2 separate regions of the Homo sapiens genome follow, and region 1 is linked to region 2. The links are contacts of gene promoters, found by promoter capture Hi-C in human tissues and cell types (Jung and others, 2019). All regions are on one chromosome and are shown on one strand. Each heading gives the region's core, a stretch centred on a gene start or on the middle of the fragment in contact. The rest is flanking DNA. Distances are from core to core; before and after follow the strand shown.

What was found. The method cuts DNA at HindIII sites, captures the fragments that hold promoters and counts their contacts. A contact is called where the count stands out against the background at its distance.
Region 1: a fragment that was not itself captured here is called in contact with the fragment with the promoter of IGSF22 in region 2 in 1 of the 25 tissues and cell types used here (lymphoblastoid cells).

What each region holds. Positions count from the first base shown.
Region 1 is chr11:18,095,448-18,098,609 of GRCh38, forward strand. SAAL1 (serum amyloid A like 1) reads right to left here. Exons shown (of 12, transcript NM_138421.3): 3 at 1,324-1,407. Among named protein-coding and RNA genes, the nearest start is that of SAAL1, 9.1 kb to the right of the region's middle. The HindIII fragment of the contact is 6,383 bases long and covers 1-3,162 here.
Region 2 is chr11:18,724,747-18,727,790 of GRCh38, forward strand. IGSF22 (immunoglobulin superfamily member 22) reads right to left here and starts at 1,442. Exons shown (of 23, transcript NM_173588.4): 1 at 1,328-1,442. The region is part of intron 2 of IGSF22-AS1 (IGSF22 antisense RNA 1); the gene reads left to right. The HindIII fragment of the contact is 11,359 bases long and covers 1-3,044 here.

The DNA.
Region 1 (3,162 bases), core at 245-2,744, 630 kb before region 2:
CAATTTGTAAAAATACACTATGGAATTCTCCATTTTATAATCTGAAAGAGAGGAAATACAGTACAGTGGTTATACTGAAGTCAGGCCTAGGCTGAAATCTCAGCTCCATTCTTTCCTAGCTGTGTGACCCTGAACACATATCTTCACCCAAGATTTAGTTCTTTGAAAGTATACCTCATAGTAGTAAGACCAGGTATTCAGTAAACAGCAGTTTTTCATAATTATAATTATTGAACAGATATTTACTAATCCATGATATGCATAGCACATGGCAATTTAATTGGCAATAAAGCACAGTACACTGCACAGTATATAAAGGCCTCTCCTTTAGTCTTTATCTATTGTTCTTGGCAGTTTACTAACAGCAATGACTACTGAAAGCTTACTTACTTACTTGGGAAGGTGTGGAAGGAAAAGTACCACTGTGAATTAACAGATGCAAATACTGAGAGGGGACAGAAGGCACACAAAGGGAGGCACGGAGACAGCATGAGACAGGGAGTAGAAAGGTCTGGCTAAATCAGAAGGGTTACCTGGCTATCCAGATTTTATGCTGGAAAGATGAGTTAGGTTCAGAGAGTAGAGGTCTTAAGCAGCAGGCTGAGTTTAGAATGGTTTTCAAGCAATGGTGGATTTTGTCAGTAAAAAAGAGAAATCAACTGAAAAATGGGAGGCCCAGGCTCTGTTCCTTGTTCTGATACATACTAGCAGCATAACAGTGGTTATGCCTAACTCGTCTCCACAGCTGGTAAATGAAAGTGCTAATTTCCCTGGTCCGGCCTGAATCTAAAATTCTATGATTTTCATAATTTTAAATTATTAAATTATTAATAATTTAATATTTTAAATTATTACAGGCATTTAGCTCACGCTTATAATCCCAGCACTTTGGGAGGCCAAGGTGGGAGGATCACTTGAGGCCAGGAGTTCAAGACCAGCCTGGGCAACATAAGGAGACCTTTGTCTCCACAAAATAAAAATAAAAATTAGCTGGGTGTGGTGGCTTACACCTATACTCCCAGTTACTTGGGAGGCTGAGGTGGGAGGGTCCCTTGAGCCCAGGAGGTCAAGACTGCAGTGAGCCGTGATCACGCCACTGCACTCCAAGCCCTGGAGACATAGTGAGACCCTGTCTCAAAAATAAAATAAAATAAATTTAAATAGCAAATTACCTAGGACCTGGCAATGTTCAATTAACATCTACAGGCTGATTTGTTGATTTATGGTCAGTAAGAAAATCAAAGTGAGAAAAATAAAAGACTATCCAGCACTATCTGTTCTTATTGCTTCAAAGAAGAAGGCTTTAGAAATGTACATACTTACTCTTAATCGAGGACACTTGGACTTGGCCAGTACTCCCATGAATATATCAGGAGCATTAAATTCTTGGAGAAATAAAGCCACGTCCTGAAAAGAAAAATGATTATTAACTTGGATGTTGAATATTCCTCCCTAAACCCTAAAGCTCAGGCAACCATAAAATTCTATATTAAAATTAGAATTTTACGCCAGGCGCAGTGGCTGACACCTGTAATCCTAGCACATTGGGAGGCCAAGGCTGGCAGATTGCCTGAGCTCAGGAGTTCAAGACCAGCTGGGCAACACGGTGAAACCCTGTCTCTACTAAAAATACAAAAAAATTAGCCGGGCATGGCGGCATGCACCTGTAGTCCCAGCTACTCAGGAGGCTGAGGCAGGCGAATCGCTAGAACCCGGGAGGCAGAGGTTGCAGTGAGCTGAGATCACGCCACTGCACTCCAGCCTGGGTGACAGAGCGAGACTCTGTCTCCAAAAAAAATAAAAAAATAAAATAAAATTAGAATTTTAGACACAAGAAAAAAAAAACACAGGCTTAGGAACTGTGTCAACAGACAAAAGTGATGTTAGAGAGTCTTTATGGTAACTAGTCCCAGACAATGGAACAATTTCATAAACAAATCTAAACTACCTACAATACTCCAGAGGATTATCCCACTCTTTTCTGCCCGAATCTATTTACCTTAATAATTTTTCTGCCCACTAGGAATTCTCATTAAACACATTCAAACACATTTGGTGATTACCTATCAGGTATTAAACTAGAAGCGGGGGACAAGGGAAAAAAGCAACACGCTGGGCGCAGTGGTTCACACCTGTAATCCTAACACTTTGGGAGGCTGGTTAGAAGGCCGAGGTGGGTGGATTACTTGAGCCCAGCTTGGGCAAACATAGTGAAAACCCATATCCACAAAAAATACGAAAATTAGCCAGGTGTGGTGGCACATGCCTGCAGTCCCAGCTACTTGGGAGGTTGAGGTGGGAGGATCACTTGAGCCTGGGGAGCTCAAGGTTGCAGTGAGCCATGACTTTGCCACTGTACTCCAGCCTGGGCAACACAGCGAGAAAAAAAGGAAAAAAAAAAAAAAGGTAAAACTTGGCTGGGCGAGGTGGCTCACGCCTGTAATCCTAACACTTTGGGAGGCCAGGACAGGCGGATCACTTGAGCCCAGGAGTTCGAGACCAGCCTAGGCAAACATAGTGAAACGCCATCTCTACAAACAATACAAAAATTAGCTGGGCATGGTGGTGTACCATCTGTAGTCCCACCTACTCAGGAGGCTGAGGTGGAAGGATTGCTTGAACCCGTGAGGCAGAGGGTGCAGTGAGCTGAGATCTCGCCACTGCACTCTAGCCTGGGCGACAGAGTGAGACTTTGTCTCAAACAAAAACAAAATTCCTTCTTGTCCTCCAAGAGCTTAAAACACGGTAGGGGAAAGAAGTCAAGAACTGCTATTGGGTCCTGTCCAAAACCAGAATTTGTGTTTTCAAAATCATCAATAGAATAAAAATTCTGATCACAATGTAACTGTGGCAGCCTCATAACTTCTTCCTACAGAGTCTGCCACAGTGCCTAAAGGGGCGTAACACACAGGTGACATGTGAGTGGACATGTGGCCCCAAATGAGCCAAATCTCACCTAGGAATGTAAGACACAAAAGCTAAGTCAGTTTGCTTGGGGACCTGCAATGTAAAATATATAAATAAAATTAAGTCTCTGGCTGTCCACTGCTTCAGATTTTCACTAAATGTGAGGTGTGTATTTGAGAAGCCTTAACTTAAAATATAAGCTGCATGGCTTATGTGAAAATTAAGGGCCCTGGAACATCTCAAAGAGACAGGCAA
Region 2 (3,044 bases), core at 192-2,691:
AAAACATCACTACAATTCTGCTTGTGTTTGCGACATGGTAAAGGCAAAGGTTTAGTTTTTCTTACATTTTTCTTTGAACTGGTAATTCAATCACATAGTTAAAGAATAAAACAATATAAAAATCCATATGGACAGGCTCCCTCCCACTCCTGCGTCTATCTTACAACCTTCCCCATTGCAACAGGTAGCCAGTCTCTAGGCTCCTTCTAGACCTCCATCATGCAAATAGGAAAACTCATGTGTTCTTATCATCTTCCTTTTTTTTTTTTAATTAAAAAAGCACATAAGGTAGCCCATTATACACACTATTCTGACCCTTTCTTTTTTCATTTAATGTGTCTTGGAGATTTTTTCCATACCAGATGATAGCGTTTCCTCATTCCTGTTCAGAGCACCATGTTTTCTCAATGTTTTATTTAACCAGCATTGCGGTTTTTTTTGGGTGATCTCGGCTCATTGCAACCTCCTCCTCTCGAATTCAAGCCATTCTCCTGCCTCAGCCTCCCCAGCAGCTGGGTTTACAGGCACGTGCCACCATGCCCAGCTAATTTTTGTGTTTTCAGTAGAGACAGGGTTTCATCTTGTTGGCCAGGCTGGTCTCAAACTCCTAGCCTCGATTGATCCGCCTGCCTTGGCCTCCCAAAGTGCTGGGATTATAGGTGTGAGCCACTGCATGTGGCCAGCATTGCAGTTTTTTTGTTTTTGTTTTTTTGAGACAGAGTCTTGCTCTGTTGCCCAGGCTGGAGTGCAGTGGCACGATCTTGGCCCACGACAACCTCTGCCTCCCAGGTTCAAGCAATTCTCCTGCCTCAGGCTCCCGAGTAGCTGGGACTACAGGCACCCGCCATCACACCCGGCTAATTTTTTGTATTTTTAGTACAGATGGCGTTTCACTATGTTGGCCAGGCTAGTCTCGAATACCTGACCTCGTGATCCGCCCACCTCAGCCTCCCAAAGTGCTAGGATTACAGGCGTGAGCCACCGCGCCTGGCCCAGCATTGCAGTTTTTAAAGTCCTATTTCGTATATGAGGAAACTGATGTCTGAAAGAAATGACCTGTCCAAGGTCACTCAGACTAGACTCCTAGCTTTTGACTCCAGTCCAGTGGCGTCCCAGAGGGCTCCAAAGCCTTCTTTAACCCAGGTAGTTAGGGGTTAAACTCTATTCCCTCTCTCCACCCCCTAATATATCTCTGCCTGGGCTGCTTCTACCTTTGGGTTCTGAGACTACTCCCCTGTTCCTATTCCTGCCCTCTACCCTATAGTCCCCTCTGGGCTCAGAAGGTGGTCAGCTTTGTCCCCTTCCTGAGGGAGGAGGGGAGCCTTACCTTCAGCACTGACCAGTCCCTCCCAACACTCGAATGCTGTGTCCACGGCTTTGGAGGCTCAGCTAGTGCCTGGACTGTAGGGTGGCCCGTCTCCTTCTTCCTTTGCCCCAACAGTGAGGCTACCAGTGTCATCTGTTCCTTAAATGTCTGGCCCCCTGGGGGCGATTCCTTAGTCAGGCTCTGCAGCTGTCTCAGCTAGATGGCACACTGCTTGGTTGTGGGGGGAGGGGGAGGGCGGTGGAGAAGGGAGGCGGGAAGCAAAGCTGGATCCAGGCTGGGGGAAACACTGAAGGCCAGGCGGGAAGGAGGCTGAGGGTGGCAGTCCAGGGGTACTTTTTTTGTTCCCTTGTGGTACAGGTTTTGGCTCTCACTGCTGCTGGGTAGGACCTCTCTGAGCTGAGGGGCTCAGGGTAGTGTGTGTGCACAGGCACACACTCAGGTACAGGTGCATGCATAGTCCAGCAGGGCTCAGGGAGCAAAGCAACAGGTCTGTATTTTCCAGGGACTGGGACACGGTGAACTGGGGAGGGCCTCTGGGATCTGCTGCGTTGCTACACAAATCCAGGGGTTCCCATTCATGTTGCACTCCTATGTGTGGTTCATACACAGCCTGAGTATCTTTACAAGGCCACCCTGGGGAAGAACAGGGAAATGTTAGGTCTCCTTCCTCTTCCCACTTCAACAGCCCAATCTCCCTAATCTGGGTAGAAGAGTAGGAGGGCCCATCCTCCGGGGGTTGTGGGGAGGTCTCTGCTTGAGGGTGACTGGAGAGTATGGCCACCTCTTCTCAAGGACTTCCATCTGGGCTGCTTCAGCCACCTGTTGTTTTCTTTTCTTTTCTTTTTTTTGAGATGGAGTCTCTGTCACCCAGACTGGATGCAGTGGCACGATCTTGGCTCACTGCAACCTCTGCCTCCCAGGTTCAAGCGATTCTCCTGCCTCAGCCTCCTGAGTATCTGGGATTACAGGCGTGCACCGCTACGCCCGGCTAATTTTTGTATTTTTAGTAGAGATGGGGTTTCACCATGTTGGTCAGGCTGGTCTCGAACTCCTGACCTCATGATCTGCCACCCCTCGGCCTCCCAATGTGCTGGGATTACAGGCGTGAGCCACCGTGTCCAGCCCACCCTGTTGTTTTCTCATCATCTGTAGCACACCCCGCATGCCTGGACCCTGGATCCCACCCAAGGTTCTGGCACCTTGTAAGGACTTGTTGGTCAGCACCCTTGCCCTGGACCCCTCCTTCTGCCCTGGGGTGACCCCCACCTGCCAGCAGTGGCATCATGGCTACTTTTGCTCCATCCCAGGGGGGCAGGGGACAAGAATAGAGCAGGAGTGTCCAGGATGGCTCAGGATCTCAGCCCACATGCAGATTCCCTGGGCCCCTTGGGAGGAGCTACTCTGAGCCCAGGCCTTACAAGGGAAATTACTGGGCTGCAGCTGCTGTTGGGATCTGTGGAGCTAACATGGGATAAGAGTTTGGCCAACAGGGAGGGGCCTGGGTGTGACCTGAATGTCTCCTTACCCTAGCCTTGGCTTCTCTGGCACATCTGTTGGAAATGGTGACCTGCCAGCCACTGTGCCTTCCCTGGAAGCCTTCCACACCTGTCCTTGAGGCTCCCCATGGCCCAGAGCATGTGTCAGGGCCAGGGCTGAGGCTGTGTGAGAATCCTGCAGAATGTTCCCAGTTTGGCTTTACAAATTTGGACTCGCTCCA